7 separate regions of the Homo sapiens genome follow, and regions 1, 2, 4, 5, 6 and 7 are each linked to region 3. The links are contacts of gene promoters, found by promoter capture Hi-C in blood cells and fetal thymus (Javierre and others, 2016). All regions are on one chromosome and are shown on one strand. The core of a region is centred on a gene start or on the middle of the fragment in contact, and the rest is flanking DNA. Distances in the headings are between cores, read along the strand shown.

Region 1 (3,334 bases), core at 704-3,203, 550 kb after region 3:
ACCCGGAGTCATCAGAAAAGTGGTGGCATAGTTATCGTCTCCCACCCAGTGATGATGCTGAGTTCAGGCCTCCAGAGCTCCAGGGTGAGAGATGTGATGCCAAAATGGAGGTAAACTCAGAGAGCACTGCATTGCAAAGGTAAGACAGCTCTCTGCACCACCCACCCGTCCACCGGAAGGGCATGGGCTCCCTCCCCATCTCTACCTGCTAAACTTTCAGATTCAAAATTGAAGTAGGCTTTTCTTTGTCCTTCTTGACTCCGGATATGGAAAATGTTTAATGGTCAAATGCTTTGTCCTACTTATAGGTTAGCACACATGTCATTTGACACATGGGCATATAAAGAACTCTTTATGCCATTTAAGTACACTCCAAATATATTAATACATTTTTGCCCTACTGTTTGTTAATTAAAGAATATAGCTTTATAAGACTTTCCATACTGCTGTCAGTGCCTTCTTTGTATGTTGACATTTTTGAGGAAGGCTTTGCCTGCATTCAGGTGTATGTATCATGTATCTAGTATAATATTTATAGCTCTTTTGAGCCACCCATTCTAAAACTTTACATAGATGATCTCATTTAATCTTCACTGTACCATATTATTACGTTAATTTTATAACTGAGAAACTAGGGCCATGCAGTTAGTAAATGACACAGATGGAATTTGAAACTAGGCAGTCTGTCCTGAGAACCTGTGCTCTTAAGTGGAATTGATGGACCCAGAGACAAAAACATATATTCTTGACAAAGTATGCTAATTTTTATTTAATCATGAATATAAACTGTAAAAGCAAATCACTATATCGGTGAATTTTTAGTTGTTTTTACAAAAAGTTTAAACTTTGTAAATGCTTTAAGGCATAAATGCTCTTTTTTTTTTTTTTTTTTTTGTCTTTTAGACTCTTAGCACAACCTAACAAACGGTTTAAAATCTGGCAAGACAAACAGCCCCAGTTGCAGCCACTCCACTTCCTTGACCCATTGCCTCTATCACAACAACCTGGAGACAGTTTGGGAGAAGTGAATGACCCATATACCTTTGAAGATGGTGACATAAAATACATCTTTACAGCCAACAAGAAATGCAAACAAGGGACGGAGAAAGATTCCCTGAAAAAGAATAAGGTACCATTTAACAGAGAGAGAGTCCAGCATGGTGTGGGTTTCTATCTATGTCAGTACAACATGTGTGGGAAGACTTTGGAGGCAGAACGTTTGAGATAGTCTTGCCTGATTGCTCTGTCCCCATATTCATGCTCTTGGTACTATTGTATTGAACAGCGTATTGTTCCTTTTTATGTCATGGCTCACCTTTGTTTAAAAGTCAGCCGAACATAAATGAAGCCTCATATTTTCCAGGCTATAGCTTGTACAGTGCATGTTTTCTCTCATATGCTAATTCTTGTTGGCCTATGCTCCCTATTTCTTTTAAAATATTATTCCGAACTACCCAAAATGTAAAGGAAAAAATGTTTGTAACAGTAGGTATACACAATTTATCGAGCGCTTCTTATCCTTACTGTGCTGAGCGCTGTACCTATATATTCTCTGGGTTAATATCAACTCTACCCATAGACTATCAGTATTAATTTTACTGGTTTCATCATCATAAAAATGAGTACTGGTTGTGTCTGCTGTCTTTAATTTCAAATTTTCAGACATTCTAAAATATGGGCCATTGAAATAGGTATTCTTGAGAATCAAGGAAATAAAACAATTATAAGAGGCCGGTATAGTTAGGGGAATGCTTTTTAGATTGTTTTATACAGATCTCCCTAGACCCAGAAAGCCAAATCTATAATTTAGCATCTAAAATGTTGTTAAAGGCAGCTTTTAACACCATGGCAGGTCTGTAATCAAATGCCACCAGTACTGCTTAGGCATAAAACACTGATTCACTCAGAATACCCCATAGGATTGAGGGGAAAGTGGGGAGCTCATGGTTCTGTTGAAATTCCAGAGAAAGGACCTATCTTTTACTTCCTTTGGTTGCATAGACCATGGTTTATCATACTTGTGCTCATAACAAGTTCCATTCTACCCTCTAATTCTTTGTGTTCTCCCTCATATTTCACACTTTGGGTTGGTGTTCATGTGTTTTGTTTGGCTGAATTTATTATACAGTCAGAGGATGGATTTGGTACCAAGGATGTCACTACACCAGGTCATTCCACGCCGGTGCCTGATGGGAAAAATGCCATGTCTATTTTCAGTTCTGCTACTAAAACAGGTGTGTACAATGATTATTTGCCTCACTTGGATTGTTGCTAAAATGAAATGCAAAGGAGATGCTTCTCAATGTAAAATTTTATTCTTATTGTAATAAGAATTTCATCTCATCTTTAATATATTTTTCATAGTTTGTTTTTCAGTTCCTTTCAAAACTGATAAACATATTTGGAAATAATTGTCTCTAAATTTAACTAAAACCATAGGGAAAAACTCACAGGCAGGTCATGTTCATTGAGATCCGTGTCCTCTCCCTACTCCTTTGCGCTTGGTGGAGTTGTTTATTCTGTGTCTTTTGCCTCCTTTCCTACAGATGTCCGGCAGGATAATGCTGCTGGCAGAGCTGGCTCCAGTAGCCTTACACAGGTAACAGATTTGGCACCTTCCCTGCATGACTTAGACAACATCTTTGATAATTCTGATGACGACGAACTTGGGGTGAGTTTGCCGTAGCTACATAAACAAAAATTTCGCTACATGAAAGGACTTTATATCAGTGTTGTAGTATTTCTTTATAGTTTGGTGTCCTGAATTTGGGGGCTCTTATTTCAGGTTCTGAATGTTCTTTATAAATGTCTGTATACTGGAATCTAGTCATGCTGTATAAAAAAAGTTTGTATACTTGGAAAAGATTGTAAAGGTTATTAGTGTAGTGTATCCACCTCGAGTTTTGTTCATTGAAGGATCTTTTTCATTAGTGTATTCCAGTTGTACATATTAAAATCTCTCACATTTATTGTAATAAATTCTTCTAAATATCACAGGACTACTAGAAATGTATTACATTGTCCCTTAGGTTTGATTTTTAAAGTAATGCCCACATAACTTTTTATTCATCTAATAAGTCAGAGGTTAGGTATGCAAATATGATTTATACTTTTTAAGATCATGGCATCATTGTAGGGGAATAGAATTTATATACATAGAAGTTAAATACTACAAGGCAGCATACAATTAAAATGACAGAGAAGAATAATTATTATAATTCTTTGGAGATCAGCAGAACTAAGAGTCAGGAAATGTGTGTCCTCATCCTCCTAACCAACTCTGTACCTTTGGGCAAATACAAGTGCCTGTTTTTTCTGGGAGATCTAGAGATGA
Region 2 (3,247 bases), core at 692-3,191, 610 kb after region 3:
CTTCTTCTCCTCCTGCTCATCAACCCTGAAGTCTGTGTCATCTTGAATATCTCTCTCTCTTCTCCCCTCATCCCCATGTTTTGTCATTCTCAGATTCTCCATTCTAAAAGTCATCGGATCTTCTCTGGAACCAGGCATGGGGGAACCACAAGAAATAAGGCAGGCATCATCCCTGGCCTGGGGCAGCGCATAGTCTAGTGAGAGCAGGTGCAGCCTAGTGGGGGATCTGGGATAGGGTGAAGACAGAGTGCTTACACTCTGGGAAAAGCTTTCTGGAAAAGTGGTATTTTCAGAAGCTCCGCAGAGCCAATAGGAGGCAGCTGTCAGAGGTGGGGTGTGTTCCAGGTGGAGGATACAGCATATGCAGAAACGTGAGGCCACAGGAGCCCCCTGCAGGTCAGCCCGACACGTCTGAGAGAAATGAGGACTCACGAAGGCATTTTAAGCAAGTTAATGATCAGATTGACCTTTAGAAGAACTATCATGGCTGGGGGAGGTGGTTCACACCTGTAATCCCAGCACTTTGGGAGGCCAAGGCAGGTAGATCACCTGAGGTCAGAAGTTCAAGACCAGCCTGGCCAACATGGTGAAACCTCGTGTCTACCCAAAAATACAAAAATTAGCAGGGCGTGGTGGCAGGTGCCTGTAGTCCCAGCTTCTTGGCTGAGGCACGAGAATCACTTGAACCTGAGAGGTGGAGGTTGCAGTGAGCCAAGATTGTGCCACTGCACTCCAGCCTGGGAAACAGAGTGAGAGCCTGTCTCAAAAAAAGAAAAAAGAAAGAAAGAAAAAAAAACAACTATTATGGCTATCGGAAGGGGGTAAAAATGGAAGCTAGAATAATGGTGGGCCACACCCTGGTATGGATAGTGAAGAGGGAGAGAGGGCTATTGAAAAACAATCAACAGAAAGTGGTTATTGACCAAGTAGGGTGTGCGGTTTCAGAAGTGGGTTGTGGACGCGGGAGGTTTCTGGCCTCAGCAGTTAGACAGCTGTCCTCAAAATGGCTATGGGAACAAGGCAGCCACTGGTGACCTTGCTGAGAATGATTTCAGCGGGGAGGACGGGGCAGAGGCCAGACTGCAGTGCATGCAGGAACAAAGCAGAGAGAAAGCAGGTAGCCAGAGTAGGACATGGAGGTGTCAGGGGGGCTGATTGGTTTGCTTTTTAATTTGCTGAGGCCTGGAGCACACGTCAGTGCCAGAACAGGGAAGGACGTGAGTGACAGATGGGTCCAAGGAGGAGGGACCCGGAAGCTTGATGGAGAGAGAGCCTTGGTTGATGGCTTTGTTCCTTTCCTTGTGAAGGAGGATGCCAAGGAGTGTTAAATGGAAGTGGTGGGTGGGTCTCAGGATGTGCAGTAGCCTTGGTGCAGATCAGGGATGAGAACCGAGGAGAACAATGAGCGGGCCTGAGACTATGAATTTACAGTGGTACCCACCTCTCTGCACCGTTATGAGCTTTTCCTTCTGATAAGGTTTGGCTGTGTCCCCACCCAAATCTCATCATAATCGTAGTTCCCATAATCTCCACTTGTTGTGGGAGGGATCAGGTGGAGATAATCGGAGCATGGGGGTGGTTTCCCCCATCCTGTTCTTGTGATAGTGAGTTATTTCTCACGAGATCTGATGGTTTTATAAGGGGCTTCCTCCTTCGCTGGATACCCATTCTCTGGCCTGCCGCGCTGTGAAGAGGTGCCTTCTGCCATGATTGTGAGTTTCCTGAGGCCTCCCCAGCCACGTGGAACTGTGAGTTAATTAGACCTCTCCTTTATAAATTATCCAGTCTCAGGTATTTCTTCATAGCAGCGTAAGAATGGACTAATACACCTTCCCTGCCCCAGGATGGGGATGGAGAGCGCAGTTCTCAGTCCTGCTGTTCCCTCCACACCACTATGAGGACACAGAATCAGACGCCCCGAGTGAGTGTCCTGATTGTACAGCTGGAAAAAGACCTCTTCTGGGCCTCTCCCTGTAGCTCGGAACAGTGTGTCGAGGTAGCCTCTCGGGCTTAGCTACAAGAGGGAAGATCTCACATCTTCGAGGAGGATGGCAAAAGGATCTTGCAGAGCATGAGGCCAAAGGAGAGCCTGTAGCCAAGGAAGGTGGGAGATGGCACATGGGAAAGAGCAGAGACCAATTTACCTGCTTCCAACTCCGGCTAAACCCTGTCCTTACAGAGTGCCTTTTGCCCAGAATATTCTTCAGACACCATTTAGAAACCAAGATGGAGGGTGGGGGAACTGGTTTACAGTGCCAAGCACATTCACTGCCTGCCAGATCATCTCAGGTAGGCATGGATTTGGGTTCTGTCTAGGGCCTTATAGATCCAGGACCCGAACGATTCTTGCAGGTCTCCAGTTGCCCCAGGCAGAAACAATGAAGGCATCTAGATCACGACTCCTCCATCACCAAGACCTGCCGGATACCATGTCCTATGTCCCCCCCCACAATTCCTTCCCCTCACCTCTTACCCAGATCTCAACGGTGGCCTCCTTGCATGCCATCCTGTCTGCAACCTGCCTCTTTCAATCCAATCTCCAAGCTATTACTGGTGTTAGTGAAGTCCAACTTCCTAGGCAGGGAACCCAACGAGGTTCACCATGATCTGGTCTTGAGCAAGCTTCTTAGGCTGGTCTCCCAAGGCAACACAGTGCGGGACAGGGACAGAACTAGGTCCAGCATGCTGTGACTTCCACCTGAGTTTGAGTTACTGAGAGGAGCAACAGAAATCAACAGGAGAGGGAGCTCCTCTCACAGGAGCCTTGGAAACCCTCAAGTCTTGCAGTCCTTGTTTCCGCTTCGTTGACTAAAGCTCCACTTTGCATGCGGCTCACACCTAGAAAGCCGTCTCTGCTTGAGGCACTTCTCACCCCAGTCTTGGTGCTGATAAAGCCCAAACTCTCTGGTCTTTGCTGCCTCTGCGCAGCCATCTCTAGCTTTGGGCTGGCCCCTCTGTCCCTCCCGGGACTCCCAGAGTAGCTGATGCCCCATCAGGGCACCGACAACACTGTGTTATCAGTGGACTCTTCTCCCACGGCCCCTTCCTGCCTGGTACAGAGGAGACATTCAACAGACCGAATGGTCAAGTGGAATAGCTGCATGCCCTGAACCTTGGAGAGATGAGTTCCTTCCTACCATCCTACCTGGTCGTTTTTCTGGAACCTTCTACACTTCCAAGACAAGATCTGTTTTCTCCAAGTTCCCTCCCTAACATTTCAAAAATACGTGGTTTAGAGCCAGGATGT
Region 3 (3,330 bases), core at 185-2,684:
TTGTAGAAACAGGGTCTCCCTATGTTGCCCAAGCTGGATCTGCCTTCCTTTTATAAGGATACCTGTCATTGGATTTGAGGTCCACCCAGGTAGTCTAGGATGATTCAATCTTGAGATCCTAAAATTAATTTACACCTGCAAAGATCCTTTCTCCATTAAGGTCACATTCACAGGTGCTGCAGCACATTAGACTGTGGACATATCTTTTCTTTTTTTGGTGGAGGTGTGACTGGGGAGACACTATTAAACCCACTACAGTGTAAAAGTAGGCCAGATGTGATGGTTCACACCTGTAATCCCAAGACTTTGGGAGGCCGAGGTGGGCGGATCACTTGAGGTCAGGAGTTCGAGACCAGCCTGGCCAACATGGCGAAACCTCGTCTCTACTAAAAATACAAAAATTAGCTGGGCGTGGTGGCGCACCTGTAATCCCAGCTAGTCGGAAGGCTGAGGCAGGAGAATCACTTGAACCCAGGAGGCAGAGGTTGCAGCGAGCCGAGAGCGCGCCACTGCATTCCAGCCTGGGCGACAGAGGAAGACTCTATCTAAATATATATATATACATATACATACATATATATATATATATATATATATATATATATATATATATATATATATATATAGCCAAACTTAGCTTTATTTCAGAGCCGTTGCTGGGCCTGGGAGTGGAGAGAGATCAGGAGAGCGCCACCAGCTTGGATCGGTTAGTGAGCTGCGGTGGTTTTTGTTTTTGTTTTTTTTTTCTTGACAGTGTCTCCTATTGTTTTGTATTTCTCTTTTGTTTTGAGGTTTTCTGCCATCTTTTCTGGAAGGTGCATGATGCTCAGCTCTGTGGTTATTTTTGCCCAACAGCTGTGTTTCCGGTGAGCGGCTGTGGGATTCTTCTGACTCAGCAAAACTGGAGCAGTAACCGTCAAGAAGCCATTCAAGCAAGGCTAGAAATAAAGAAGCTGTTTCTTCACCGTCCCCTCCTCCTCCTCTCACTTCCCTCCCCATGGGTACCTTTTGAAAGTCTCACAAAGCACTTTGAAAAAACTACTTGGACCAGTATGCTGGAGGGTTGACTGAAGGTGGCCCCTCCGCTGGGCTTTAAGCAAACAGATAAATTCTGGAAAGGACTCTGCCCTGCCAGCCTGGCTGTGGCCTTCGGAAGGCCCCTCCCAACATGCCCCCACCCGCCGATCACATGGACTGTGTCTTACAAGTTTCCCACAGGTCTGACTAGTGAAAGCAGAGGCTGTGGGGACTTTTGTGGTTTTTCTAGGGTGTGGCCCCACTTTGCCTTCACCAGGCCTGAGTATCTATGCCGTGCAGCTTGCCTGCTTCTCAAAGGTCATGATTTCCACCCTGGGGCTGGGAGGCAGCTACATATTCCTACCCGCTGGCACAGGATCTGGCCCTGCACTCCCGAGAGGTGGCTGCGAGCCTTGCGGAGGCAGAGAGAGAACAAAATGGAAAGGAATCTTCCTCCCGGAGAGCCATCTTCTGTGCATGCCGGTGCCTGCAAAAGACAGGCGAGGCGAGACAGCTGCACCTCGGGCCTCGTCGCTGTTGCTGAGAAAGAAAGGAACAAATAAATTTAGCTCCATCCTACGCATCCTTTGCAGCTGCTGATTGACCAAACAGAAAGAGGCCTCTATTTCAACCCTGGCTTCTCAGCTTTTTGCCTGATGGGGTCTGCTATCGCCCTTTACAAGGGACTTTTGAAGGAGGAAACGGGCCGTGGCCTTATTTAGCGCCTGGCCGGCTGGAGGCTGCACAGACAGGAGTTCAAGTTTAGGGTGTCTCTTCTTGCCCATCCCAAAGCAAAATGGTGGCCCGGAAACGTTTCCAAATGGGCTTCGGCTCCTGGAATTTCCAATGTATTTATTTGGAAGCCAGAACATGGTGGGTGGAGAGATGTGTAACTGTGCCGAGGCCAGCCTATAGCTCCCGAAGCCATTAGTTTAATAGCACCATTTGTGGAAATAAAGAACTCGCTGACTGGGCTTGAAGGTAAAAGACTGGAACGAAGCACTGAGGGGGTTTCGTGGGGCTCACTAGCGTGGAGAGGTCCCTGCGGGATGGGGGACAAGCTGTGTGGACTTTGAGTCAGATAGACTTGGGTTCCAGTCCTAGCTCTATCACCTAAAGGCACGTTGTCTCTGGACAAAGAGAGCCTTTGCTCTGTGATATGTAAGTGAAATGCTAGCTGTGACACTGAACCTCTCTGAGCCTCAGTTCCTTATCTGTAAAACAGCAATGATGACACGAGGTCGTCACAAGGATTAAATGACAAAGAATACTGAACCTACATAGCCCAGCTCTTGCTGTGCCATGATGGTGTAGAGTGGCCCCTGTTTGACCTGCCCAGGCCCATTCTCCAAAGAAGCTGTACAGGTGAGGTGGCTCACCCCTGTAATCCCAGTACTTTGGGAGGCCGAGAAGGGAGGATCACTTGAGCCCAGGAGTTTGAGGCCAGCCTGGGCAACATAGAGAGACCCCATCTCTGCAAAAAAATAAAAAAAATTAGCTGGGTGTGGCGGTGCACGCCTGTGGTCCCAGCTACACAGGAGGCTAAGGTGGGAGGATCCCTTGAGCCCAAGAGGTCCAGGCTGCAGCCTGGGTGACAGAGCAAGACCCTGTCTCTAAAAAAAAAAAAAAAAAAAAAAAATAGAAGGTGTTTCTTCCCCAATCCTCTCCTTTCATTTCCCTCCCCGTGAGTACTATTTGGAAGTCTCACACGGCACTTTTTAAAAACCACTTTAAGTCCGGGTGCAGTGGCTCATGCCTGTAATCCCAGTACTTTGGGAGGCCAGGGTGGGTGGATTACTTGAGATCAGGAGTTCAAAACCAGCCTGGCCAACATGGTGAAGCCTCATCTCTACCAAAAATACAAAAATTAGCGGGACACGGTGGCACATGCCTGTAGTCCCAGCTACTCAGGAGGCTGAGGCAGGAGAATCGCTTGAACCCGGGAGGTGGAGGTTGCAGTGAGCCGAGATTGTACTACTGCCCTCTAGTATGGGTGGCAGAGTGAGACCCTGTCTCAAACAATAACAACACTTTAACCAGTATCCGGGAGGGCTGCTGAAGGTGGCCTCTGCTAGGCTTTACACAAGCAGATGGGTTCTGGAAAGGACTCCACCAAACCAGCCTGGCTTTGCCTTTGGAAGGCCCCTCCCAAGATGCCCCCACTCGCCACTCACATGGACTGGGACTCTGTCTTACAAGTTTCCCACTGGCCTGAGCAGAAGGTGGGAGGAATTTCTGTGGTTTTCTAGGTTGGCCACAGAATACTACTCTTCCTCCTCCCACTCTTTTTTCCGTAAGATTTGGGGCTCAACT
Region 4 (3,688 bases), core at 679-3,178, 590 kb after region 3:
GCTGATGTGATTTGAAATGTGTGAAGTACTAAGCAATATGAAGAGAGCACCTTCCTTTAGCTAGTCTATGGCAATCTAATTTGCTATAGAGAAACCCTTATTTGATTATTCTTAATGGAAATTTTTGAATAGCTGTTAAGGTATTTGTTTAAAAAAATGATTATTTATAAACTATAAAACACTCAACACAGCATCCATTTGCATTGTTTTTGAAGAAATTATAACACCTACCAGTGTTTATTTATGGTAAATGGGATGAGGAAAAGGATACCAAATTTTATATCTGGTATGATTACAATAGAATAACAAATATATGAGAAAATAAAAGAATCATAGAAAAAAATGATCATGGTGATTGGGTTCTAGGTGATGGTTTTCACTTTTTATACTTTTCTTTACAAATTTTCTGCTGTGAGTGTACCTTACTTTTATAATGTTGGGGAGGATTTCTTAATGAAAATGCTGGGCCAGGCACGGTGGCTTATGCCTGTAATCCTAGCACTTTGGGAGGCTGAGGCAGGCGGATCCCTTGAGGTCAGGAATTTGAGACTAGCCTGGCCAACGTGGTGAAACCCCATCTCTATGAAAAATACAAAAATTAGCCAGAAATCACTTGAACCCAGGAGGCAGAGGTTGCAGTGAGCCGAGATCGTGCCACTGCACTCCAGCCTGGGCAACAGAGGGAGACTCCATCTCAAAAAAAAAAAAAGAGAGAAAACATTGTGCTTTGATTTGCTTTTGGAATAGGTCTCCATTTTCAGGGCAAGTTCACACTCATTAACATGCATTCATTCAGCCTCTGGTGTTTTAGATGCTAAGTGGATACATAGATGGAGTCTACTGTGTTTTTGAATGGTGTCAATTTTAATGATTAAATTGTTGCTTTAGCTCTTTTACCATACTTTTATGTGTCTTTGGAGGCTATGCAGAGTGTAGGTTTTTATGTTATATTCTTTATTGCATTCTGTTAATACTGTACATAAGGAGATCATTGGAGAGAGTACAAAATGAAAGAATAATTTGTAATAGCTTGCACTCAGTAGGTCCTAACTGAATCTAAGTTATTAACAGTGTGTGTCCATAATAGCCATATGCCAACAAAACATGACATAGGTTAGGTTGGATTATTATGATATTGATATGTGGACTATCTTTTTAATTTTTGTGCTTTTTTTCCCCCCTTCCCTCTAGATGATATGTTTGTTGACCTTCCATTCCCAGATGATATGGACAATGATATTGGCATATTAATGACTGGGAACCTCCATTCCTCTCCCAACTCTTCCCCAGTACCCTCCCCAGGCTCTCCTTCTGGAATTGGTGTGGGCTCTCACTTCCAGCATAGTCGGGTAAGGATGATTTGGAGTACGTTGTTTAAGACAACCATAGCCTTTAGGAAGATAATCCACTGGACATCTGATCATCTTGTTCCTACTTGCACAGTTCTTGATGGTCTGGGTCCTTGGTACAAGAGAAATAAGTGTGGGAAACTGACTATGGTTCCATTTTGAATAGAAGGCAGGAATTTGAAATAAATATGTTATTATTTCTGATGAATAAGTTTTATCAGAAGAATAGTCCTATTACAGATGCAAGGGTTTTTAATGCATTGTTTTCTTAGCAAAAATTAGTTCTAGTTGCTTGCTGCTTCCCAGTTTTTTAATGGTTTTATTTTTTGCCAAAATAGTGGCTTTTAAGAGATTAGTACAACAACCGTACTTACTCAACATGCAGAGTAATTGTGCTGATTGAAGAACACGTTGGTGATGGCTTGTTCTGAAAGGAGCCTGCCGTGCTCTTTGCGTGTCCTGGCTTAGTCATTTTGCAGCCTTCTTCTTTCTAGCCGACCTGCAGGAATGGCAAGAGCCGCCAGGAGATTGATTTTACAGATGTGTCCAGGTTAACGCCAGAGTATTAAGGAAAAAACCAGAGCTTACAACTGGTTTCATCTTTAAATATCTCAGGGATATTGGAGGTGGATGAACAACAGAAGATTTAAGAGTTAGAGGGTTCTGCCACAGCTTGTGGTAACTTTGCTTCAGTTAGATGATTCCTGCTGCATCACTGTATTGTACTGTTTATTTAAAATGTTATGAGACTGGGGAGTTAAGACTTTGAAAAATAGCTATGTCTGGTATCTTAGACTGAACAAGCATAAGCAGCCTGCTCACACTCATTTATTTAGACACAAAGATGGACATAAAGGACTTCAGTTTTCATCGGGGGGGGGGGGGGACTTTTATTCCCAGCACTGAATTTATTAGACGCTGGAGAGAAAAAAGGTTTATAGCTTAGATTAGTCACAGAGCAGGTAAGACCAGAGGAGGGCATCTCAGACTGTTCCCATGTTATACCTGCCCCTATTACCCTCTTCTGGAAGGAAGGGGTTTTAAGGGTCTTTGTTTCCTTTGCAGTACTTACCAGTTAATGATAATTTGTTCATGGGAAACGGTTGTGATAGGAACGAAAAACACAAATGTTACATTGTCTATTTTTTTAAAGTTGGGTTTAATTTGAATTCTGGAGGCAAGTAGCATAGCAGCTAAGAATGCATGCCCCACAGTCTGTTAAAGACAACTTTGAATTGCAGCTCTGGGCCTACGGGCTTTGTGACCTTGGACAAGCTAACTTCACCTCTCTTAGCCTGAGTTACCTTATCTGTGAAATGGAATAATAGCAACTACCTCCCAGTACCTGTTTTTGTAATTCAGTTTATGCATTAACAAAGAATTGGTTATTGAAGTTGTAATGTTAGTTGTGTAAGAAACAGAGGTATGCTGTATTTCTCCCTTTTTTTGGAGCCTTAAGCACTAAAGTCTTTAATTCAATGCCATGATTTAGACAGTGCTGTTCTGAAGCTAGCCAGGTGGCCTTTTTCAATCCTGAGCACCTGCAGCCAGGTGACCTCCAAGAGGCTTTCAGCATTTCCTTTTTCTGAACCATTAAACATTCTTTGATATCCAGTTAAGACATTACAGCAGGGAAGAGAATGCGTTCAAAGTGGCAGTAAATTTTTTATTTTTTTAACCAACTCAGAATTGATACAGTTTGATGTAGTAGCTGCAGATTATTTTTTCCTTCCAAACAGAAGGTTTTTTTTTTTTTTTTTTTTTTTTTTGAGACAGAGTCTCACTCTGTTGCTCAAGCTAGAGTGCAGTGGCATGATCTTGGCTCACTGCAACCTTTGCCTCCTGGGTTCAAGGGATTCTCCTGCCTCAGCCTCCTGAGTAGCTGGGATTACAGGCGTGCACTACTGTGCCTGGCTAATTTTTGTATTTTTAGTAGAGTGGGGTTTCACCATGTTCGCCAGGCAGGTCTCGAAATTCTGACCTCAAGTGATCTGTCCGCCTCAGCCTCACAAAGTGCTGGGATTACAGGTGTGAGCCACCGCACCCAGCATAAACAGAGACTTTTAAAAACAAATGCATTACTTATTGCTTGCATGAAAGGTACATTTTCAATTGATGAAGCTAGCTAAAAGAATTAAAAGATAAGAAAAGTGTCAGTTGCAGCAAAACATAGCCTCTTCCAGGAGTCTCTTATTAAGGGGAATGCTGCAAATGAAAACATGGCTTCTCTGTGAGCAGATCTTGCACTACTGGCAGCTCAGGAACTTTTGTGCTGTGCACATACTGGTGTCACATTGTCCTGGTCAGGCTGGTGCGCTTGTGTGTCTTTGGCTGGTTGC
Region 5 (3,689 bases), core at 538-3,037, 570 kb after region 3:
TTAAAAAGTCGCACCTATCCATTTTTCCACTTTTAAACAATTCTTCCATTAAACTTTTTTATATAGAGTAATCCATTTCCCCTTTTATTATTGTTGATACTAAATTATCAATTATTTTCTCTAATTTAGTAGAAGAATATCTTTCCTCCTGACTCCTAAGTCAAATATTTTAGAATCTACTACAGCTAATAACGTCATTGTTCTGAATATAACTGAGGCTCGAGGTGATGGTGAGGAAGAGGAGGGTGCTAGCCCCCTTATCTTCTCTGTTTCTTCTCACTTCTCTTCCAGTGCTGGACATCAGCATGCTCTCCTCCCAGGATGTGGTTCGTATGCTGTTGTCCCTGCAGCCCTTTCTCCAAGATGCCATCCAAAAGAAGCGCACGGGCAGGACCTGGGAGAACATCCAGCATGTGCAGGGACCACTCACTTGGCAGCAGTTCCATAAAATGGCAGGACGGGGAACCTACGGTAGGGTCTTTGTCCTGTTTAAAATTCCTTCTGACTTCAGTGCTGTTCAGTGAAGAGCAGCGTTAGTTACTGTCAAGTCCTTGCGTCACTAACAAAATAGGGGAGTCTTTTTCTTTGACCATTTAGTTTTATAATCTCTTTGTTTTCCTAAAGTTACTTTTGGAGTCAAGTTTCCTACCACCCTTGGCATAATCCAGGTCAGTGAGGAAGCTAATCCCTAAAAAGTGCATTTTTTAGATTCTCCTCATTTTCCCAATCCTCACTGCATTTTCATCTGGATGGACTTCTGGGCCAGTTCTGTCTACTTCATCATAGTCAGAATCATAATGCTTATCTTGAAGGAAATGATGTAGTGCTGCTTGGAAAGTTAATTTTAACTTGTTCTAGTCTGCCCTCTGATCTTACTGAACCTTTATAAACAAATTCTGACTTACTTAATTAAGAGTCCTCATCAGTGACCATTTAATTAGATGATTTCAAAAATACTTTTAAGAATGTCTTGTGAACATGGAGTGACATTTCAGATGCCAGAATTAAGACCAGTGCACCAGGAATTTCAAAATTGTAAGGTTGTGGGAAAAACTCTCTAGCACCTTTCTACACTACAATGTCATTTTAGGTTCGGAAGAATCTCCTGAGCCGTTGCCCATCCCCACTCTGCTGGTAGGCTATGACAAGGATTTCCTCACCATCTCGCCATTCTCCTTGCCGTTTTGGGAGAGGCTCTTGTTGGACCCATATGGGGGCCACCGTGATGTTGCCTATATTGTGGTGTGTCCAGAAAATGAGGCCTTGCTCGAAGGAGCCAAAACTTTCTTCAGGGACTTGAGTGCTGTATACGAGGTGAGGAAGTTACTGTGAAAATTGCTTTTTATGACTTGGATCCTCTGATTGTTTATAGTGATGACTAAATTTCAAGACAAATGTCTTGAAAGTAAATCTCAGAGAAAATTTGCAAACAGGTGGATGAAGAAGAGAATTGAATTGGCCAATTTTTCTGGAAGCAAATTGCTTTCCCATCTTTGCTTTATATTTGTTAGATTTAGAAAACGTTCCCCTCCCATTCTTACCACACGTCTTAAAATCCCATCAGTTCTCTCTTCTCCATTTATGTGCTAAAAGTTGAAGAATATTGCTCACCAGGGGAAAGTGTGGCTATGTAGAAGATGAGCTTTACCAAAAGAGCACATCTACTCTTTGTATTTATTTACTGGATGGATTGAGGGACAGGGTGAGTAGGTGAGAGTTCCTGACAACAGTGTAAAAATGTGTCTTTTGCAAATTTCTGAATTGAAACATAAGTTTAATGAATAATGTCCCTGTTGTGTTTTAACATGACATCTTAATACTGAAACTTTGATACTGATTAAAAATATAATTCCTATAATAATGTAAAAACCAGGCAGATAATTTTACATCTTTAGTATATGAATTCCTGTTGCTTTAAAAAAAATAGAATCATGTCTGTCTTTGAAGAATAAGTGCCACATTTCTTATGCCAAAGTATATATGCACTAAGTTCTTTGTATCTGATACATCTAATGTCTTTGTATTCAGCAAAATGAAATTAATATCTGTAAAATATTTAGTACTATGATAGGCATGTAAACATTATGAAAGTGGTTTTTAAATAAGATTCCAAGCTGAATTGCAAAATATTCCAAAACAGGACATTCATGATCTATAAATGTATGAGTAGGCACGGAATAGTAAATTTACGTTGTTGCTACAAAGAAATGAGGAGATGCTAACATGATGTAATGACATCAATTAAGTCACTGCCTTGGATACATTCATTTCTGAACAGTGTCTGGTCAGGGCATATATAATACTATTAAATCATAATTAACAGAAAATTTGTGTAAGCAGTTTTAAAGCCCAGCCATTTCCTTGAATGGAACCTTCAACATAAGTTACAAAATGTAAAAAGCACTGCCAGATCTTTTTAAGAGGGTACAGACAGACACTCTTTTAAATTTTTCTTAATGACTTCACTAGGGTTGCTTATTCGGCAGTAATTGATACCTCCTTAGGAAGAGTATACACTAGAGGATTTTGTCGGGGCTTAGTAAGCCTTCACTTCATCTACTCTAGTAAGGGATAATAATACGGGCTCTCCTGCTGGTGAACAGGTAGTTTACTTTTTGCAGGTTTATTATATTCCCTGCCATAAGCACCCATTTAGCGTCATGGAGATTAATAGCAGAATCTCCTTGTCCTATTTACTTTAAAAAAAAAAAAGGCGATCAGCATACTCACTGCTTCAGTGGCCCCTGCTATTGGTGATCTCCAAATGTCTGTAACAGAACAGATGGCCCATAAAATTTTAATGTTATCTTATGGGAAAATATTATGAGTAGGGATTACTTAGGAGATTTTAGTGGGCATATGTCTCAGTTAGCAACAGTAGGCAGGAATCTGCTAATTCTTTGTCCGTTAGCAATCAGGTAGTGTTCAGCAGCCTCCTCTTGTACAGGAGGAATTGGCTTGAGTGAAGAAACATTTTTTTTTTTAGAGAGCCTAGTCCAAGTTTTAGAGAGACAGATAGCAATTTAAGGGTACATTACAATTACCTGAAAGGACCAACTTGTAATGTTGGTTTGATTGCATGTGATAACCCTAAAAGAAAAAGGAAAATGCTTCCATATGTATGTTAAAGAATCTCCCTTGCTAACCATTGGTACTGAATGAAGGAATGGCTCCTGTTATAACTAATGATCTTGTCTATGATATCAGATGTGTAGGCTTGGGCAGCACAAGCCCATCTGCAAAGTGCTACGTGACGGGATCATGCGCGTGGGAAAAACTGTGGCACAGAAGCTGACAGATGAGCTTGTGAGTGAGTGGTTTAACCAGCCTTGGAGCGGCGAGGAGAATGACAATCATTCCAGACTCAAACTTTATGCGCAAGTTTGCCGCCATCACCTAGGTAAATGGGAATTTATTTGGCAAAGTAGAATTGGAGAAGTAAAATAGCAAATCCGTCCCATCCCTTCTTTTATAGATGCAACATTATATTTCTTTTGTCTCAAGTAATGCTGTATTTGTTAAGGTCCAGTTTGGTGTTCTGGGCAGTTTAATGCTAATTTCTATATGGACATATATTTTTTAAAAACTATTCAAAGTTGCCTAATCATGTCTAATTACTGCACATTTTGAAAACTTAGCAGCATGACTTGGTATTAGCTGCTTAGTTTTAACCCATATTCTGAAGAGAA
Region 6 (3,316 bases), core at 286-2,785, 540 kb after region 3:
ACAGAATAGAGAACCCAGAAATAAATTCTCTTATCAACAGACACTTGATTTAAAAGAAGGTGCCAAGAGCACATACTAGAGGAAAGAATAGTGTCTTCAAAAAATGATGCTGGGAAAATTGGATTTCTACATGCAGAGGAATGACACTAGACCCCTATTTCTCAATTTAAAAACAAGATCACCTCCCCCCCCCCCCCGCCCCGCCAAAAAAAAGCATGAAACTACTAGAAGAAACCATAGGAGAAATCCTTCTTCACATTCATTGATCTGGGCAAGGATTTTAAAAATAAAACTTCAAAGGTCCAGGTAATAAAAACAAAAATAGAAAATGGGGTTATATCAAAGTAAAAAGCTTCTGCACAGCAAAGGAACTGACCAACAGAGTGAAAGGGTAACCCACAGAATAGGAGAAAATATTTGCAAACTATATATCTGACAGGGGATTAATATCTGGAATATCTAAGGAACTCAAGTCAGTAGCAGAAACCAACCAGATTTAAAAGCTGGGCAAAATACCTGAATGGACGTTTCTCAAATTTTCATTTGTTCTTTTCTTCTTAAAGCATTTGTTTGTATATTCTAAATTGAAGAAATCACTACTGGTTAGCCTTTCTATGGCATTTTGTTATTATTTGTATGTTTGTGCCTGGCTTTATTTTATTCATGTGTTTTCATATCAGTCTCTTGCTAGTGAATATGCTCCTTGAGGGCAAGGACTGTGTTTTCTTCAGTGTCACTTCAGGCTCCTTGCACCATTCTTAGATAAATGTTGGTTGTATTTGTTCTGATGCACAGTTGGGACTCGGTGGAATAGAGAACATGTTCTATGGCTGTAGTCTACATTTATTTCTCCCACCAGCTTCTTATAAATAAGCTAGTAACTACATGGGATACTGGGCATGAATAGGGATAAGTCAGCTCAAACTCCCTTAGCTGAAATTTACAGCTGAAAAATAAGCCAATCCACAATCAGTAAAACTATATTTTGGTCCTATTTAATGTGCCAGACATAATGTTGTATGTAGAAGATGGTGTGTTTCTAGTGTCATTTTCATAAAGGACAGAGTATTTTTACTGTTTATATTATTTTATACCTATAGATGTTCAAATTATGTGCATTTTTGCTTTTGTGAACTTAGAAGTATGGTATCAAGGGTTTTTAAAACTTTTTTTCAAAATTCTTTTAAAATTGTAGTCACTATCTTGAATTTACTCTGTCATGTTAAATACCCAGATACCAAGACTGGGTGTTTCCTACTGGTGAAATGTCATATTTTGGTAAAACAAAAAATGTTATCTAAACATACTGGTCAAAGGAGAATATATATGTGTCACTATGTGATAGAGAAACATTTTAATTTTATTTCATGTTTTCCTTTCAAGCATTATGATTTTGCACTTGAAACAACATTTTTTTTTTGAGTAGTACTCCAAATGTACTTTATAATACTTTAGAGAAGTTTTGAAAAGAAGCAGCATCTTTGAGATGACTTTTAAAAATTGTGGTTGCTTGGCTTTATTTAGTAAAAGTGATTTTGTTTCATCAGGAAAATGTTCTTACGAGATGTTTTGAGAAATGGAGATGTGTTATGGCTATCTTAGGGCCAAAGTTACAATTTTGAAAAAATGTGCTGAGGGGTTGCCTTCTGATCTTGTTCGTAAGCCACTTTTTTTGAGACAGGGGTCTTGCTCTGTTGTCCATGGTGGAGTGCAGTGGCTTGATCACAGTTCACTGCAACCTCGAACCCTTGGGCTCAAGCGATCCTCTCACCTCAGCCTCCTCAGGAGCTAGGACTACAGGTGCACACCACCGTGCCTGGCTAATTCATTTATTTATTTTTGGTGGAGATGAGGTCTTATGTTGCCCAGGCTGGTTTTGAATTCTGGCCTCAAGTTATCCTCCTGCCTCAGCCTCTCAAAACGTTGGAGTTACAGGTGTGAGCTGTTATGCTGGGTCAGTGGGCCACTTTAAAAAATAAGTCTTTTAAGTGTTTATTCATTTATTTGACTTAACACGTTTTGAGTGCTTGTCTTGTGCTAGACACTGAGACAATAGAAAACTATTCCAATTCCTTCTCTGTTCTTAGGTGTTTATAGTTGGCATAAGAGTTAGATTTTATGCAAATGAAACTGGAAACATTTTGTACAGTAACTTACAAAAGTTCTCAATGCAGTATATTCGTATTTCCAGATTTATCTGATGGCTTAGTTTGTCAATACTGAATTAGAAGTTTCTCTTTTGCCCACAATTAGAAGTCAGCCTTACTGGACGGTTGATAAAGTAGAGCTGTATCTTACCTGTAGTTCCTGTTTCTAGCACCCTTTCCTACCAAAATATAAAGTTGAGTTTCTCATTCTCTCTTTTGTAGTGAGCATTTGTCCTGTGCTTTCACATTCTTTCTGCATGGAGAAAGTAATGTATGCACAAGTGTGGAGATTGCCCAGCACCAGCCAATTTATTTGATCAATGAGGAGCATATACACATGGCTCAGTCTTCACCTGCACCATTTCAAGGTAAGTATGGGTGTTCCTGCTCTCCACCCCTATCCGCCACCGAGTGGATAACCATCTTGCCCAGTAAAGTTTTGCAGGGTGAGACCTTATCTTAAATGGACATTTTAAAGCTAAGCATAAGGGTCAGATTTTGAAGAAGGAAGAAAAGACTACCATTTCATAATTAAGTAGTAATAGTGTGTTAGTTTTTCGCTGAAGCTTATCGCATATATAAGATGGTCTTATGTGTATTCTTTTGTAAGAATAAAATGTAGAATTTCCTTCAGAACAAAAGAAAATCAATAAATACTTGAAAAATAGAATTCAATGAGTAATTGACCAAAGTCACAAATTAAAGGTTTTCATTGTTGTGTTTATTAACAAGGTTTTAGGAATGTAATGGTTTATAGAAGATAAACCAAATACTTAGTATTTGAAATTTCTATCAGAATCAAAGTTCTAGAATTATACAGTGTATAGTTTCTTCAGCGATGTTCCTAACTTTGTTTTAATTTTAAACTCCATTGGTAATAGGTATTTAGCTGTAATTTAAATGTAATTGATACATTCATATTTTCATTAATTCTCAGCTTTACCACCTATATATCACCAAAATAACTTCATGTCCTTTTGATCTGAGCATTACAAATCTTAGTTTTGTCTTTGGAATTCAGAATTTTCTGTGAGTAACAGCTTTTAAATGTTATAATATTAGATTGAACCGTATGGAAACAATCTTTTTTTGGTTCAGTCTAATATGTCATTATTAGAGATGACTGGTTGAAATAGTCTTAGCATATCACACAATATAATTTTAAAAAA
Region 7 (3,714 bases), core at 278-2,777, 520 kb after region 3:
ATTTTATGTCATACCATAGTTTTCAGTACAGACTGTCCATAGATTAAATAATTAGTTACAAGTCCACAGGGGCTAGTAAAGGAAGAGCTCCTACCAAATCAGAGGCAGTTAAGAAGCACCAAAGACCCCCATCTAGAAGCCGAGTACAGCCTCTGCTAGCAAGAGGATGGGAGGGAATTTTTCAGAGCAGCTCAGACAGGAGCTGAGCATGAGAGAAGGGCAGTTTGTGGATGTGCTGAGGCTTTCATTTGTTGTCTCAGCCAGGGGGACTCAGTACTATGTAGGCCCAGGATTGGGATGACCAGATTAAAAGCAGAGAAGAGAAAGGAAAGGAACACCAGTGTTCAAAAGGATTTTAGGCATTTTATTATCGTTTTGAACATTATTCTATACTGAATCCAGAAAGAACATGTAATATTTTCCATCTTTGGATTTACTGCCTGAGAAAGTCACTAAAATATAACGGTGCATTTTACCCAAACAAATAAATAGAGAAGGAGGGGCCCCCTCTTTTCCTTGCATTTAACTCCTTGGATTTATGTGTGTTTTGTAGTTATCTGTAGGGTCTCTTACTATACCCTTTTTTGCATATACAGTTTGCATACCATTTGACAGACATAACTAGACAGAGGAGTATGAATGGATCCACCCAAATTTACCAAGCCACCATGAAAATGACACAAGACTCATCCTGTTGACAGTAGCTTGTTAGCTGATACAACTTCATATTCTAGGGATGAGATGATTTTTGATGATGAGCTTTGGTTCACTTGTTTAATCTTGATTAGTGGTGTTCTGTTCTATTCTGAGGCTTAAAAAAGAAACAGAAGACTTGGGTTCTTTCCAGATGTTTCTTTGATGTGACTTTTCCGGGGATTAGTGAGGATGACAATATTTTTCTACCTGATGATTATTTGCGGGTCATAGTTGTCTACCAGATTCTCAAATGTTGTCTCAGCTCACATGCTCAGAGAAATATTCCTTCAGTGAGATAATCTAGCCAGGCTTTTGAATCTGTCTTTAGATGCTGTTGTGTGTTCTTAGGAGTTAGGATTTCCACCTATAGTATGGCCTCTTTTTTCACTCTTCTTCCCACTAGTATCACAGAGCTGGTCTTAAACTTTGACCATTTGATTTCTCTGTGTTGGTGTGAAGTGAACACAGAGCTAACATTCACTTGCGCTTTCTTTCGTGTGGAGTTGTTTGAACTGGCAGAGCTCCTGAGTCAGCAATACATTCGGGTTATGCCAAGATACAGACTTCACTTTTCTCAGTGCTGAATCTACATAGAAACTTAATTGGTTAATTTTTTTGAAAACACTTACTTATGGAACATTTGAAAAGTGCTTAAGTTGGCTTTGAAATTTCTGAAACTAAATCCTGCATTTGTAATCCATGGGGTGGGCACTAGAATACCAAGTTGATTTATTCTTGTGATTAAGATCCAGGAACAAAAAAGAGGACCTCCTTCTCTTGCTGTTGGTTAAAATAGAGCTAGCATATAGTACAATGGCGTTATTCTTGGTCACATGAACTCTTAATGCTTTCTTGACACATTTGTTTAGAGAAAATATTCTTAAAACATGGACATCTGCTTTATATGCAGTGGTAAGAATCTTTAGACTACACATGAATATTACATTGAATTAACCCTATTAATTAGGCTTCTGAGTTGTTCTAGGAAAAGGACTCAGCTTTGTGGCAAAGTGCCAAACATATGCCAGTTTGAATAAAATACATGCCTTTCTATTACTTTTCCCCTTCCCCACTGTTTGAGCATCATCAAGTCATTTGCTTTAGGTTGGGATGGAGAAGAATCTGCCAGTGCGTAGGGGTATGGATTGAGCTGAGTGGCTTTATTCCTGGATATCTATTTATACATAGTCAAGATAAATAGATACATGCATGCACACATACTATGAAAAGCCAGATGAAGAGTATACTCTTGGTTCCCAGTTTAACTTGCCTGCTTTTATTAAGAAAAATGTGACACATGTACTGATTATCCTAACATGTTTTAGAGCATGTTTTACTTTTTGTATTAGATTTCTCTGATAATGCATTTCTTTTTCTGTTACTAAACATGATTAATGTACCACATAGTGTTAACTGTGCTCTTTCCCCCAAAGACATCAAATGGGAGGCAGCATGTAGAAGCTAAATTATTCGGAGAGGAGTCAGTGATTGATTTAAATATAAAAGGATTAATTGGTCCCTGAACCAGACTATTAAACTGTACTGTGATCTTGACTGAAAGTGGAAGAATTACAAGTGCATTGCATAGAATAAATTAATACATTTTTCGTGGCTTTAATCCTTTTTTTTCTGTATTGCTTATTGTGGTTTTATGTACTGTACTCTATTGTATGCATAATTGATGCAGAAGGGATTCAGAGTATCATGATTAAATGGGAGAGGGGGATAGAACCATTCCTGAGGTTTAAGGTGGTACAGTTCTTCTTCCAGGATAGCTGAATGTATCTCCACAGAATGAATATTTCTTGGAATTCTTACCAGTGATGACCCCAGGCACAGAAAGAAGTTAAATGTTACTGAATAAAAAAATTAAAAGTTTACGTTCTGTGAGGGCTTTGTTTAACATGAACATCGGCTAACAGTGGGTAAATATAGCCCTTTATCCTTGAAAGAATTGAACTGAGACTTCAGCTCTTGAGGGTAAACAGTGTAATGGCACCATACCCAGATAAAATTTCCTTCTTTTTATAATTATTTCTATTCAAACAATACTGATTTTTCTCATTCCACCTCATAGGCTAATACTTCAGTCAGACAGGATGCTGGGTTTTTTTTTACGCTATCAGCCTCATCTGTCCTTTCCAGGGAGAAGAAATGTGTGTTTATTCACCTCTGTTATATTGCTGCTTTTATAAACAAAATGTAAATCATGTAAGTTCTGCTTTCAAATAGTACTCCTGGTAATAAAAAAGCAGAAAAGTTTGATTCAGGGGGCTGATTTAAGAATTCATGTATATGTGGCTTTACTAGTAATATAAATTTCAAGTTTTAGAATGGTATCTTCAAGATATTTCTCTCTACCTTGTCTCACCACATCTCATCTTTCCCTTATAATTTGATGTGCCTTGCCTTCCATTATTCTATCTGCTTCTGAGTAATCAGCCTGTATGGGATATTTTAAAACAGGCACAGCTTATCTGAGAATCAAGATACAGAATCATCAGAATCATAGGACTGAAGGTGCCATTAAAGGCATCCTGCCCCTCATCCCTTCCAACACTCAAGTTTCCTTCATTACACTTTCAGGGATAGCCAAGATGGTACCTTTCTTGTAAGCCTGTTTATTCTTTAAATAACCCAGTTAGAAAGCTAGTCTTTATATTGAGTTGAAGTCTATTTTCTGCAGTGTCTTCATCAGTGGTACTTGGCTGGTGTGCCTGAGCCCTCTGGTATACTATGAAGTATTGACCAGTCTGTTGCCACATTTTGATCAATTTTTAAAATTTATATTTACCACTATTGGAGGAGGGCAATTACTATTCTAACAATAGTTTTAAAATACAGTGCTGAGTAAAATAGGTTTCATGGCATGGTGTACTTGAGTATAACCTGTGCACTGAAAAATTGTTTTTATCTCTCTCCTGAGTTGTCTCCTCTTGGCTAAATTTCTCCATTTCTTTCATTTGTCATGTTGGGTGGCTTTAAGTTCTTTTGGTCACTCTCCTTTGAATATGGTTT

The links. The method cuts DNA at HindIII sites, captures the fragments that hold promoters and counts their contacts. A CHiCAGO score of 5 or more calls a contact.
Region 1: a contact is called between a fragment that was not itself captured here and the fragment with the promoter of MAP1LC3B2 in region 3, in 1 of 17 cell types (non-activated CD4 T cells). The highest score is 5.1, in non-activated CD4 T cells.
Region 2: a contact is called between a fragment that was not itself captured here and the fragment with the promoter of MAP1LC3B2 in region 3, in 1 of 17 cell types (neutrophils). The highest score is 5.2, in neutrophils.
Region 4: a fragment that was not itself captured here is called in contact with the fragment with the promoter of MAP1LC3B2 in region 3 in 1 of 17 cell types (total CD4 T cells); the score reaches 5.3 in total CD4 T cells.
Region 5: a fragment that was not itself captured here is called in contact with the fragment with the promoter of MAP1LC3B2 in region 3 in 3 of 17 cell types (non-activated CD4 T cells, naive CD8 T cells and total CD4 T cells); the score reaches 6.8 in non-activated CD4 T cells.
Region 6: a fragment that was not itself captured here is called in contact with the fragment with the promoter of MAP1LC3B2 in region 3 in 10 of 17 cell types (total CD4 T cells, neutrophils, naive CD8 T cells and 7 more); the score reaches 10.6 in total CD4 T cells.
Region 7: a contact is called between a fragment that was not itself captured here and the fragment with the promoter of MAP1LC3B2 in region 3, in 9 of 17 cell types (total B cells, total CD4 T cells, monocytes and 6 more). The highest score is 10.1, in total B cells.

What each region holds. Positions count from the first base shown.
Region 1 is chr12:116,005,206-116,008,539 of GRCh38, reverse strand. MED13L (mediator complex subunit 13L) reads left to right here. Exons shown (of 31, transcript NM_015335.5): 10 at 1-139; 11 at 904-1,129; 12 at 2,129-2,234; 13 at 2,547-2,671. Among named protein-coding and RNA genes, the nearest start is that of LINC02463, 120 kb to the right of the region's middle. The HindIII fragment of the contact is 5,074 bases long and covers 1-3,334 here.
Region 2 is chr12:115,949,399-115,952,645 of GRCh38, reverse strand. No RefSeq gene overlaps it. Among named protein-coding and RNA genes, the nearest start is that of LINC02463, 65 kb to the right of the region's middle. The HindIII fragment of the contact is 1,366 bases long and covers 1,259-2,624 here.
Region 3 is chr12:116,557,485-116,560,814 of GRCh38, reverse strand. MAP1LC3B2 (microtubule associated protein 1 light chain 3 beta 2) reads right to left here and starts at 1,434. Exons shown (of 2, transcript NM_001085481.3): 1 at 1,382-1,434. RefSeq lists enhancers at 841-940, 981-1,030, 1,251-1,590, 1,430-1,939. The HindIII fragment of the contact is 18,876 bases long and covers 1-3,330 here.
Region 4 is chr12:115,966,601-115,970,288 of GRCh38, reverse strand. It overlaps MED13L (mediator complex subunit 13L), which reads left to right. Exons shown (of 31, transcript NM_015335.5): 28 at 1,192-1,349. Among named protein-coding and RNA genes, the nearest start is that of LINC02463, 82 kb to the right of the region's middle. The HindIII fragment of the contact is 4,146 bases long and covers 1-3,688 here.
Region 5 is chr12:115,983,891-115,987,579 of GRCh38, reverse strand. MED13L (mediator complex subunit 13L) reads left to right here. Exons shown (of 31, transcript NM_015335.5): 18 at 292-471; 19 at 1,091-1,314; 20 at 3,208-3,400. Among named protein-coding and RNA genes, the nearest start is that of LINC02463, 99 kb to the right of the region's middle. The HindIII fragment of the contact is 3,827 bases long and covers 1-3,689 here.
Region 6 is chr12:116,021,655-116,024,970 of GRCh38, reverse strand. It overlaps MED13L (mediator complex subunit 13L), which reads left to right. Exons shown (of 31, transcript NM_015335.5): 5 at 2,370-2,515. Among named protein-coding and RNA genes, the nearest start is that of MIR620, 130 kb to the left of the region's middle. The HindIII fragment of the contact is 2,361 bases long and covers 355-2,715 here.
Region 7 is chr12:116,041,864-116,045,577 of GRCh38, reverse strand. The region is part of intron 4 of MED13L (mediator complex subunit 13L); the gene reads left to right. Among named protein-coding and RNA genes, the nearest start is that of MIR620, 100 kb to the left of the region's middle. The HindIII fragment of the contact is 7,745 bases long and covers 1-3,714 here.